Regions from separate parts of the Homo sapiens genome. Here region 2 is linked to region 1. The links are contacts of gene promoters, found by promoter capture Hi-C in human tissues and cell types (Jung and others, 2019). All regions are on one chromosome and are shown on one strand. The core of a region is centred on a gene start or on the middle of the fragment in contact, and the rest is flanking DNA. Distances in the headings are between cores, read along the strand shown.

Evidence for each region. The method cuts DNA at HindIII sites, captures the fragments that hold promoters and counts their contacts. A contact is called where the count stands out against the background at its distance.
Region 2: a contact is called between a fragment that was not itself captured here and the fragment with the promoter of PPARD in region 1, in 2 of the 25 tissues and cell types used here (liver and spleen).

What each region holds. Positions count from the first base shown.
Region 1 is chr6:35,341,308-35,347,702 of GRCh38, forward strand. PPARD (peroxisome proliferator activated receptor delta) reads left to right here and starts at 1,251. Exons shown (of 8, transcript NM_006238.5): 1 at 1,251-1,374; 2 at 5,760-5,843. RefSeq lists silencers at 1,103-1,312, 1,493-1,632, 1,663-1,712. The HindIII fragment of the contact is 18,171 bases long and covers 1-6,395 here.
Region 2 is chr6:35,242,113-35,248,507 of GRCh38, forward strand. It overlaps SCUBE3 (signal peptide, CUB domain and EGF like domain containing 3), which reads left to right. Exons shown (of 22, transcript NM_152753.4): 13 at 92-208; 14 at 510-668; 15 at 909-1,124; 16 at 1,482-1,643; 17 at 1,851-2,018; 18 at 2,538-2,699; 19 at 3,116-3,313; 20 at 3,832-3,984; 21 at 4,094-4,173. It overlaps SCUBE3-AS1 (SCUBE3 antisense RNA 1), which reads right to left. Exons shown (of 4, transcript XR_001744102.2): 2 at 4,077-4,147; 3 at 2,236-2,318. Among named protein-coding and RNA genes, the nearest start is that of SCUBE3-AS1, 14 kb to the right of the region's middle. RefSeq lists enhancers at 1,180-2,379, 5,680-6,119. The HindIII fragment of the contact is 7,267 bases long and covers 1-5,295 here.

The DNA of each region.
Region 1 (6,395 bases), core at 1-2,500:
GGAGGTTGACATCTAAGTTACAAATATAATGCACAAGCATTTCAAAAAGTAGGGGAAAAAAAAGAAAAAGAAAAAGAGAAGCAGAAAGAAGGGGGAAAAAATCACTCATCCCTGCCAGGCACGGTGGCTCACGCCTGTAATTCCAGCACTTTGGGAGGCTAAGGTGGGAGGATAACTTGAGTCCAGGAGTTCAAGACCAGCCTGGGCAACATGGCAAAACCCTGTCTCTACTAAAATTACAATAATTAGCTGGGCGTGTGGCGCATGCCTGTAATCCCAGCTACTTGGGAGGTTGAGGCAGGATAATCGCTTGAACCCGGGAGGCGGAGGTTGCAGCGGGCTGAGATTGCGCAACTGCACTCCAGCAGGGGCGACAGAGTGAAACTGTGTCTCAAAAAAAAAAAAAAAAAAAAAAATCACTCATCCAGATAGCTAGGTGTGGCCTAAGGAGCTTGCGGCCTACGGAAGGTGTGGCCGAAGGAGAGGGGAGGGGTCATCTTTAATGATGATGGAGGGGAGGCATTGGTCATATACCTGAGAGTCAAGCTTTGTTCATCGTCAGATGAAAGCCAACTTCTTCCACCAGATTGCCTCCCAGCTGCTAGGTAGTTTCCTGTGGTACATCTTAAGCGGTAGGTTGGGATAATAGGTCCCTTCCAGGTCTTAAAGATGTGGATTAATAAGAACAGAATTTTCTACAACAATAAGGAGGATGTCCCCTATTTTAGGTGAATAAGCGTATTGCATAAGCACATGGGAAGAAAGGTTAAGAACTCTAAGACCGTAAATTTCCAGTTGTAGAAGCCTCTTGAAGGCGGAAAGCCCTTTTTTGAAAATTATAGGCGATATGATCTCCTCCAGTGGACCTAGCACTGGGTTAAGAGTCTCTCCAGACTTGTCACTGCAAGTCACGTACCTTTTCTAGGACTAAGTTTCTTCACTGGAAGATGAGGAGGTTGCACTAGATGACCTAGAAATTCCCTTCCAGCTTTAAATTCCCTCTTGTGTCACTTGCTGGACTTGTTCTACTGGACCTGGCGCTCCCCTGCTCCTCCCTTAGCTGCTACGTCCGCATCCCGCACCAGAGGGCGCCACAGGCTGGCCCGGGGCAGCGTGCGGTGGGCGGAGAGGCAGAATTAGGGGAGTCTCCAGGAGGCGTGGTGATTGGCCGCCGCCGGGCGGAAGGGGGCGTGGGGAGGGAAAGGCCGAGCAGCGCGGTGACGTCTCGCTGGCGGGGGCGGGGCCGGGCCGCGGAGCGTGTGACGCTGCGGCCGCCGCGGACCTGGGGATTAATGGGAAAAGTTTTGGCAGGAGCGGGAGAATTCTGCGGAGCCTGCGGGACGGCGGCGGTGGCGCCGTAGGCAGCCGGGACAGGTCAGTCCGAGACGAGAGAAGCGGTCAGGCAAGTGGCGGAGGGAAGCGCCGGGCCTGGGCCGAGGCGGCCAGCGGGACTGGGGCGCAAGGCCCGGCGGCGGGGAACGGGGTGCGGGGAGCTGCCGGGGTCCGCGGACAGCGTCACGGCGGCTTCCTGATGCTCCGGCCCGCTCCGGTCAGCCGTCGTGCGTTGCCATGTAGGCGCCCCGCTGACCCTGCGCCCCCCCGCCCTTGGACCCCCATAGCTGCTTGAGTGAGTCCGAAATACGGGCCTCCTTCCACCCTACTCTTTGCCCCCTCTTGGGCCTGGTGGCTTCGTCTTCTCCCACTTGTGAGAACCCCGTCTCAGGCCCGGGGGCCTCTCCCATTCCCCTCCCCTGCCTCTGACCTCTTCCTTCACCCGTTTCTGGTGTTCCTGAATCCACTGCCCTATCTAGCGAGAGTCTTCTCTGGGATCTTTTCCTCTGTCCCCCTCGTTATCCTTGTCTCCTGCCTTCATCCTCCCATCCTTGCTCTCTCAGGCTTTACTCTCTCTCCCCATCCCTGTCCCCTTCTTATCTGTGGTCTGATCCCTCCTAGTATTATGGGTCCCCATCCTCTTCCCCAGGGTGTTCCTAGGCTTTTTCCAACTCCGTGCCTGCAGTCCCTGTCTCCCTAAGACTCTCACCTTGGTTCCCTGAGAGGCCCTGTTTTTGCTCCTTTTTCCGATTTCCTTCGTATCAATTCTGTCCCCTACATTCCTGTCGCCCACCTCCTTTTCTCTCCCTGTTCCTTTCCCCTGCTTCAGGGAGAAGCCTTAGCTCCACACTCTACTCTACTTTCACTTGACCTGCAGTTGACATAACCATGGGGTGGGGGTGGAGGTGTTCAGACCTTGATCGAATTAAGAGGCTGATTGACTAAAGGAAATAACAGATTGTGTGGGAGAATGTACGTGGGTGTTGCATCAGAGATGATGTCCAATTTGTAGGCCATTCTTCTTATCTCAGCTTTAATACTTCCCCTTTATGGGGCTGTTGACTTCCAGGAACCCTTGGGGGAGACGGCGCTGAGCTGGATGTGTGCCACGGGTAGCCGGAGGCTTTGTCCAATTCTTTTCCCCTTCCAGGAACCGGGGTTTTGTGTCTTTCCACTCTGGATGTGTGGAATACACTTATACCATGATACCCCAGCCTCTCTCTGCCCTCACTCCCACCCTCCACCCTGTGCTCCATCCGAAAGGACTAAGAGAATTCTCCAGAAGCTGTGCTCCAGAAAATACTTGTGGTCCTCAACCTTTTTTCTGTGTACTGGCTCCAGAACTTTTTTTTTTCCCGTTTGAGTTTTGAAATAGATTGCTGGCCTGATAGCCCTGGGGCTGGCGGGCATCTGTCCCCTTTTATTATTGGTGGCTTGAAACAGCTGCTGATTTTCTCTCATATCTCTTTGACAATCTTTGGCCAACTGAATGTGCCTCTGATGTTGGTCACTGAACATGTTCTCTTGGAGTCTCTTCTCCCTCTTTTTTCTTTGTTCTTTTCTGAATCTAGGGAATCCAAATTGTCCCTCTTTTTCCCTGGGAGCTTAATTTCCTCTGTATCCAGGAGGAACGGCAATCCCAGAGCTCTGTTCCCTTTGCCCAGGCATAGTATGAGGTATCAGATTGATAACTACCCTGGTGGGCTGTGGGGCTGCAGTAGTTAGACCTTGTCAGGAACTTGAGCAGACACATCTGCTTCCAGTCACATAGATCATCTTCTCTGGGGCTTGAGAGCCCACCACCTTCCATGTGTGTCTGGATGTTTAACCTTACCAAGCAGAAGATTCTCGTCATATCCTTCAGTTTGAGCTCCTTTATTTGGCGTTGGTTCTCTAAAGAAGTATTCAAGAAATAACATATCCTTTGTTTCTACCCAGTCTGATCTTGGAGGATTCTGAAAGCGTGACCCACTCTCATGTTTAGAAATGAAGGCTCATTGTTTCACCTGGCCCCAGGTTTCTAGGGGCTCCTCTTTTGATGATTGTGCTGTCTTTGAGCCAGATTGGACATGGGAGTTGGCAACCTTTAGGAGCTGCGGTGGAGAGCCAAAGGAACCAGCTTGACCAGACTTTAAAGTTTTGTAATCCTCTTGTACACTGTTTTCTGTGAAAGCAATAGGATTGTGGATGGCCTGTTGTTGAGCCAGTCCCTTCTCCACTGACCCCCAGACCCCCTTTGCAGCACTTGCAAAGATTTGGGTAGACTGGACCAGAGGGTTTTCCTTGTTCCTGTGAATAGCATCTCTCCAGGGTTTTAGTGGATCATTCTAAAGAGGTAGAGGTCAAGTGTTGGACAGATTTTTAGTCTAGTCTCTGGCTTTCAAGGACTCCTCCTTACTCTTTTGAGCAGTTTGTTACTTCTGGCCGTGCTTACCCCTTAGTAGTGCTCTCTGCTGTGGTGGCAGGTGAGAGATTTGAGAACAGGTCAAGGCCAGTCCTTGTGGAGCAGCTTGGGCACCAGCAGCCCTAGATGGATAGCTTCTTGCAGTTTGTCCACTCTCATTTTCTGAGAAGGTAGTCATGATTGTCAATTACCAAATTCCTTCCCCATTCAGTGATTTTTGCAGAGTCTGGGTCTGGATTTTCTTTCCTTCTTTCTTTTCTGACACAAGGTTTTGTTCTATTGCCCAGGCTGGAGTGCAGTGGTGCTATCATAGTGCACTGTAACCTCGAACTCCTGGGCTCAAGGGATCTTCCTGCTTCAGCCTCCAGAGTAGCGGGGACTACAGGTGCACACCACCACACTCAGCTAATTAAAAAACAATTTTTTTGTAAAGACAGGCTCTCACAATGTCTCGAACTCCTGGCCTCAAGCAGTCCTCCTCACCTTGGCCTCTCAGAGCACTGAGATTACACTGACTGCTCGTTCAGGTGCCTTTCTCCTTGCCTCTTCACCATGGCCTTCTTGTGTGATATATGCCTTAACCCATTCAGGAAGAATTGCTCCTACTCAGCCTTTCAACCCGACCTGTGGTCCCTTAGACGCCTTCCCTTAGGGCCTGGTAAGAGGATAGACAGTGTAGAGCACTAGCCTGGGAAGCCATTAGGCCTCTGCTTTGGGCCTACAGCTGTCCTGACTGTTGTGCAAGCTGTCTTCAGGGCCTGCAGATTCTGGCACATCCTGGGATAGTGCAGCTCCTCTCTCTCAGGAGTTGGACCTGTCACTTTTTTTTCGTTTTTTTTTTTTTTTTTTTTGAGATGGAGTCTCGCTCTGTCGCCCAGGCTGGAGTGCAGTGGTGCGATCTTGGCTCACTGCAAGCTCCATCTCCCAGGTTCACGCCATTCTTCTGCCTCAGCCTCCTGAGTAGCTGGGACTACAGGCGCCCGCCACCACGCCTGGCTCATTTTTTTTTGTAGTTTTAGTAGAGACAGGGTTTCACCGTGTTAGTCGAGATGGTCTCGATTTCCTGACCTCGTGATCTGCCCGCCTCAGCCTCCCAAAGTGCTGGGATTACAGGCGTGAGCCACCACAACCAGCCTGGACCTGTCACTTCTAAGGGCTTCAGCTATATCCTGTCCCTGAGGCCCACCTCCCTGAGTGCTCTCTGCAGGCTGGGAAGCTGAACAGTGGTGCCTTGCTCCAGTGCCTCTGAAGGGCTTGGAAATTGCAGGACACAGCTTTACTGCTCAGCATTGCCCACACTGGAAACATTCTCTTCCTCCCTACCCAGGTCTCTGTGGGCTTTGTCCGTTCTGCCAGGCCCTTGCTTATATGATGTCAGAAGCCCTGTGCCCGGTGCCATTGTCAATGCCATGTCCCAGATTACCTAATGGCTGCTTCTTGGAGATGGTTTGGTGTCCATGCACATTTTTCTCTGCCGTTGGAGCCAGGGTGAGGAGCTGCTTGCAACAGCTGGATTCCAGGGTGTCAGAGGAGCCCTTGGAGCTTGCCTTGAGCCTGGCAGGGAGAACATGGCCCCTTGCATCAGGTTTCAGACATATGGGTCTTCTTCCTTGGCAGATGGCTCCTAGCCTTCATAACTCAGCAGGCTGGTGATTGGCATGTGACTCCAGTTCATTCTGCAGGGGCTTTGGTGAAGGCATCAACTATGACTCAGGACATCTTCATTTATGAGCTTCTACCCAGCTCCCTTCTTACCTTGCCTGCGCCTTCTGCGCCGACCTGATAAAATCAGCAAAGCCAGTGTCTGCTTACTTGGGAGTGAGCAGACTCCTTCCAGGATTGGGGAAATATTTGCTGACTCAGGCTCAGAATCACATCTCAGGGTGGTGTGTAAGGGACCGACGAGGAGCCAGATTACCTTAGGAACACTCTTTGAGTTACGGTGGGTATAACTTATTAGAGTTGCTTTGAGGGCCCCTGGCACCTGTCAGCTAAAGCTGTTGGGGTTTTTTCTATCCTGCAGTGTTGTACAGTGTTTTGGGCATGCACGTGATACTCACACAGTGGCTTCTGCTCACCAACAGATGAAGACAGATGCACCAACGAGGTAATCCCATTTTCTTTACTCAGGGGTCTCTGACCACCACTGACACAGGATCCAGATTTAAGATCCTGACCTTGAAGATGAAATAATTTCACTAGGGCTTATTCCCAGATTCCAGGTTCCTGTCACAGCATCTGGTACCAGTTGCTTATGCATAGTATAGGCATTTATTAAGTAATTATTGAAAGTCTATGGCTTACATAGTTTTTTCAGGAGCATGGAGATTCCCACCTTTGCGCCCATTAAAAGATAAACTCCACAGGGCAGGGAGTTGTTTTGCTGCCTGTTGTGTCTAGGATAGTGCCTGGCACAGAGGAGATAATGAATAAATTTTTGTTGAATGAGTAAATGAACGAACTTTCGTCTTTGCCTATATGGGTACCTAGGGTGCCAGGCCACAAAGATGGTGTCCATCATTCTCTCTTATTAGGGGGCAAATATATATATATATATATATTTTGTTTGTTTGTTTGTTTTTGAGACGAAGTCTTGCTCTTGTCCCCCAGACTGGAGTGCAATGGCGTGATCTTGGCTCACTGCCACCTCCTTCTCCTG
Region 2 (6,395 bases), core at 412-2,911, 99 kb before region 1:
TGGCTTATTACCCAGCTTCTCAACAACCCCTACGGCACCCCCGACCTCCATGGGCATCCCATACTGTGCTGAGTTTCTACCATCCCTCTAGAGGCTGCAGTGCTGTCCATTAAACAACGGGCCTCCTTCAAGATCAAGGATGCCAAATGCCGTTTGCACCTGCGAAACAAAGGCAAAACAGAGGAGGCTGGCAGAATCACAGGGCCAGGTTTGGACTGGGGACCCCATTCCAGTTGGCTGTCTGGCCACTAAATCCTCCTTACCCCTCAGCTCCTCTGCTTCCAAAAACCCACCAGAACCCTGAACTCTAGGCAGAGCAGAGGAAAAAGCAGCTGTAGGCATAGCACCCAAGGAAGTCCCAGAATATTCCCCTCCACCAACTAATTAGGACCCTAGACTAAAACAGGATTGAGAGATAGTTACAGTTAGAGATCTGGGGAGGTCTGTCTGGGCTGGGAGTGAGAACTTTCCAGGGGATGTCCCTGGGGTTGACAAGCCCTCTCTCCCAGGTGGTGCCCCCTGCTCTGAATGCCAGGTCACCTTCATCCACCTTAAGTGTGACTCCTCTCGGAAGGGCAAGGGCCGACGGGCCCGGACCCCTCCAGGCAAAGAGGTCACAAGGCTCACCCTGGAACTGGAGGCAGAGGTCAGAGCCGAAGAAACCACAGGTGGGACTGGGGGCACTGTTGGGAAGAGGACTGGAAGGGGAGGGCAGAGGTGGGGAAACCACAGGTCTCAGCAGCAAAAGGAAGGGATGGAGCCTGTACTAGGGGCAGACCCTGCCTGGTGCCAAGCCTAAAAGCTAGTCCCTCTTACCATGCCCCTCCTAGCTCCCAGCTTTGCTCCCCTGCCCTCCTGCTCACAGCAACTCTTTCTCCTCCCTGATACACACGGCCATCCACCACCAGCCAGCTGTGGGCTGCCCTGCCTCCGACAGCGAATGGAACGGCGGCTGAAAGGATCCCTGAAGATGCTCAGAAAGTCCATCAACCAGGACCGCTTCCTGCTGCGCCTGGCAGGCCTTGATTATGAGCTGGCCCACAAGCCGGGCCTGGTAGCCGGGGAGCGAGCAGAGCCGATGGAGTCCTGTAGGCCCGGGCAGCACCGTGCTGGGACCAAGTGTGGTAAGGGAGCTTACTGGGGAGCAGGGATGTAGGAAAGACCCAGTTTGGGCCTGACTCAGAGCAGGACCCTTTGTGGCCTCAGATGCATTTCTCAAATTATGAGGCAGCCAGGATGCTCCTGCCCGCTGTCCTCCCTTCCTTGGTTCCAGGCTGAAATCTAGAAGGATGCCAGGTGGGGCCAGCAATCCTCCTGCACACGGTTTTGACCCTCCTATCCCCCCAAGTAGGATTGTGTTTGTTCCCTGACAGAGATTCTCCCTGAATCGGGGGTTGTGGCGGGGAGTGGGAAGGGGAGTCCCAGGCCTGGGTGGTGGGAAATGCGGGGGTGGGTGGCTAGCGCGGCCGACTCTCCCTCAGTCAGCTGCCCGCAGGGAACGTATTACCACGGCCAGACGGAGCAGTGTGTGCCATGCCCAGCGGGCACCTTCCAGGAGAGAGAAGGGCAGCTCTCCTGCGACCTTTGCCCTGGGAGTGATGCCCACGGGCCTCTTGGAGCCACCAACGTCACCACGTGTGCAGGTGCCAGGGGAACAAACAATACAGAGTGGGGTAGGGTGGGCACTGGGATGCCCATGGGCATGGGATTTCCCAAAGGGCAGGCCCAGGCTCCAGGCCACTCTCTTAGTCAACATCCTGTTTGTATACCTTTGTCCCCTGAGATCGGGTGACCCCATGGGGATGACTCAGGACCATCCCCATCAGAGTTGGGCCCTTGATTCATTGCAGGTCAGTGCCCACCTGGCCAACACTCTGTAGATGGGTTCAAGCCCTGTCAGCCATGCCCACGTGGCACCTACCAACCTGAAGCAGGACGGACCCTATGCTTCCCTTGTGGTGGGGGCCTCACCACCAAGCATGAAGGGGCCATTTCCTTCCAAGACTGTGACACCAAAGGTGAGTAAGCTACTCACCTCCCTGGGGGATGCCCCAACCCCAACTACTCCCAAAAAACTCTCCAATTTCCCAGAGGGGACACTGACCCACCATTTTCTCCAAACCAGTAATGGGCCCAGCTACTTGACCAACCATACCATCCTGCTTCCAGGACCCACCCTGCCCCTCCACTAGTCCCAAGCTTGGGAACTGAGAAATAATTAACAGTCCCACTTACCCCTCCACTTTGGAGAACTGGTGGCATATTCTCCTCCATATCCCAAATGAGTTTCTATATAGGTTTGGCACTGTGCTCAGCGTCTGAAAGAAAAGGATTGGCACTGTAGCCAACCACTCTGTAAACTCTGTTTTTCCGTGGGCTTAAATTCTGGCATGACTGGGAAAGATTGAGACCCTAGAAAAGAACTTTGATGTATCTGATCTCCTGATTCTCCAGGATGAATGTATCCTGTCCATCCCATGCCCCGTAACTCCCACCTGCCTACCATCTTGATTCCTGCCCTTCTCCCTTGCCTACAGTCCAGTGCTCCCCAGGGCACTACTACAACACCAGCATCCACCGCTGTATTCGCTGTGCCATGGGCTCCTATCAGCCCGACTTCCGTCAGAACTTCTGCAGCCGCTGTCCAGGAAACACAAGCACAGACTTTGATGGCTCTACCAGTGTGGCCCAATGCAAGAGTACGTGGCAAGCCAGGCTGTGCAAAAGGGAGGAGAGAGGCCTGGGAGCAGTGGACATCTAAAGGAGGGGTGTGAAACCAACAGGGAGCAGGGCTGGGGGGTGGAGGAGCAGGAAAACTCCACCTTCCACCTCTCCCCAACTCACTCAATCTCAAGGCCAGTTGCTAGGCTGGACCCTGTAACACCCTCTCCCTGGAGACAGTTAATGAGGAAGCAGAGACAGGTGAAGTGAGAAGAGAAGGTACTAAAAGGGCAGGAAGGAAGATGGACTCAGAGCTTGGAAAATAATGATGAACTAGAACGCAGACTTCCCATAAATGTCTGACCTCTACTTCAGAACTCTTCAATTCCCCCAGCACACTTCCCCACTGACTTCCCTTCTCTGTCTTGTTTTATCCACTGGGGTTTGGCTGCAGATCGTCAGTGTGGTGGGGAGCTGGGTGAGTTCACTGGCTATATTGAGTCCCCCAACTACCCGGGCAACTACCCAGCTGGTGTGGAGTGCATCTGGAACATCAACCCCCCACCCAAGCGCAAGATCCTTATCGTGGTACCAGAGATCTTCCTGCCATCTGAGGATGAGTGTGGGGACGTCCTCGTCATGAGAAAGAACTGTGGGTGGCTTGCAGAGCTGGGCCAGGGAAGGGCAGTCCAAATCTGGTTAAGGCGGAGAACAAAGAGAGAGACTGATACAGGAAGAAATGGGGCAGTGAAGTTAGGGATCTATGAGGGTGAAATAGTGAGAGGCCTTTAGGAAGAGAGAAGCTAACAAAGGAAAACAGCAATGACACATGTTTGGTAGAAAACAGAGTTAAGAAAGCTAGCAGTGGGGCTAGAACTCCAATGGCGTTACATGTATCACTTTCCTATCCTAGCATTTTTGCCATTCCATTCATTTAAATGTCATATTTATTACACTATGTGAGTGCCCAGGTATCAAGGAGGAATTGTGGAATGAGCCCAGTGGGCAATGGGAGAGGGTGTGGGGTAGGGTGTGTGTATGCGAAGGGGGAGCCTTTGTCAGAATGATTCTCTTGCCCTATACCCCCACCACCAGCTGTACAGCCCACGTTCTAGGAGGGCTTGGGTAGCCTGCCCTGCTGCTCTACTGACCTGCTGCTTGCCTTCCCAGCATCCCCATCCTCCATTACCACTTATGAGACCTGCCAGACCTACGAGCGTCCCATTGCCTTCACTGCCCGTTCCAGGAAGCTCTGGATCAACTTCAAGACAAGCGAGGCCAACAGCGCCCGTGGCTTCCAGATTCCCTATGTTACCTATGATGGTAAGCCAAGGAGGTGGGTGAGAAGGGGAGGTATGTCAGTTTTGAGAGGGAACCAGGAGAGCAGGAAGAGCTCCCGCCCCTGAGCCCCTCACCTTGGTTGACTTTGCAGAGGACTATGAGCAGCTGGTAGAAGACATTGTGCGAGATGGCCGGCTCTATGCCTCTGAAAACCACCAGGAGATTTTAAAGGTGAATGAATATTAACAATAATGATAGCTAACATTTAATAAGCATGTAACAATATATAGGCAATAGGCTAAGTGCTTACATGAATATTCTCACTTGATAGACACAATAGCTCTATGAGGTAGGTGCTTTCTCCATTGCTTCTTTACAGATGGGAAAACTGGGGTATAGAGAGTTAAAGAACCTGCCCCATGGGAAGCTGGGATTTGAGCCCAAGCCTATCCGACTGCAGCGTCACCCACACTATATTACACCTTGGGGAAAACTTGGAAGAGAAAGGGAAAGTGAGGAGAAGAAATGTCCCTACCTCTTCCAAGAGACATAGGGAAAGTGAAGTATAGAAAGATACTTTTGCATAAGTCCCTTCCTTCCCCTATTCTCTCCCCAGGCCTCATTAAGCAGCAGCAGATAGGCTGCGTGTGGTGGTTCACGCCTGTCATCCCAGCACTTTGGGAGGCCGAGGCGGGTGGATCACATGAGGTCAGGAGTTTGAGACCAGCCTGGCCAACATGGTGAAACCTCGTCTTAATTTTGTAAAAATACAAAATTATCCGGGTGCGGTGGCAGGCGCCTGTAATCCCAGCTACTCAGGAGGCTGAGGCAGGAGAATTGCTTGAACTCAGGAGGCGCAGGTTGCAGTGAGCCGAGATGGCGCCATCGCACTCCAGCCTGGGTGACAAGAGTGAACCCTGTCTCAAAAAAACAAAAACAAAAAAAGCAGCGGCAGATCTAGCACAGCTTTCTCAGAATCAATTTATGTACAGACTTCTTTTCAAGGAAAATAAATACTTCCAACATGGAAGAATGGACTAGATGCCCTGGGTCGGTGAATCCCAATTTAAGAAAATCTTCCTTAAGAAACTATAGTCTGGCTGCGCATGGTGGATCATGCCTGTAATCCCAGCACTTTGGGGGGCTGAGGCGGGTGGATCGCCTGAGGTCAGGAGTTCCAGACCAGCCTGGCCAACATAGTGAAACCCCGTCTTTACTAAAAAAATACAAAAAATTAGCTGGGTGTGGTGGCGGGCGCCTGCAATCCCAGCTACTCGGGACCCTGAGGCAGGAGAATTGCTTGGACCGGGGAGGCAGAGGTTGCAGTGAGCTGATATCATGCCATTGCACTCCAGCCTGGGCAACAAGAGTTAGACTCAGTCTCAAAAAAAAAAAAAAAAGGAAACTATAGTCGTAGTCATAGAATTATCCTTCATAAATTATCACTGCAAAAAAGTTAAGTGTTAGCAAAATATTTTTATATTATCATCAAAATAAAAGCCTTGACAACAAAAATCACCTAGAACTTGCAGACTTCAAAGAATATACTTTTAATAATACTTTTCAAACATTTTTAAAGCATCTGAACCCTTATTTCAAATCAAATGTACTGTGGAATTCCAACACATAAAGCAGTGCAGCTGTTCTGATTAAAGTGGGGTAAGAGGCTGAAACCCCTACTTCTTATTTGAAAAATCCACTGACGCCATGGAAGGAGCACCAGCCTAGGAGCCAGAAGACCTGAGTTTTAATGCACAGTGCCTGGCACCTAGTAGGCTCTCCACATACCATGCTACTGTTGTAGACAGGGTGGTCAGGAAAGGCCTCTAAGGAGAAGAGACCCAAATGAGGTAAAAGGGCTCCCCATTAGAAGATGAGGGAGGAGCATTCCAAGCTAAGGAGCATGGGAGCAATTTAGTGTGTTCAGGAACCTCCAGAAGGCCAGTGTGGCTCAGCAGAGGGAGCAAGAGTGGAGGTGGAAAGCAAGATACAGATCACATTCTGCCAATGAGTGATAAAAGAAACCAGAGAAGAGTTTCAAACAGGAAAAAGATGAACTAATTAAAAACACAAAAAGTCACTCTGGCTGCTGTGGGGAGAAGAGTCTACGGAGGGACAAAGGTAGCATGGAGACCAGTTAGGAGGCTACTACAGTACTCCAAGTCAGAGACAGTGGTGGCTTGGGAAGATGATAAGTGGTCAGACCCAGACATATTTTGAAGGTAGAGTCAATAGGATTTGCTATACTTGTAAGCAAGAAAGAGGATTCAAGGATGGCTCCAAGGATTGGGGCCTAAGCAACAGAAGGATGGAGCTGCCACTGATTCAGTTGTGGAATTCCAGAATAAGGGCAGATGGTGGGAATGGGAATCCAGAGTTGCCCTCTGGATATATTCAGTATAGGATGCCTAGTAGACATCAAGAAGGGCTGCTGAGTCATGGTGTTTCTCTTT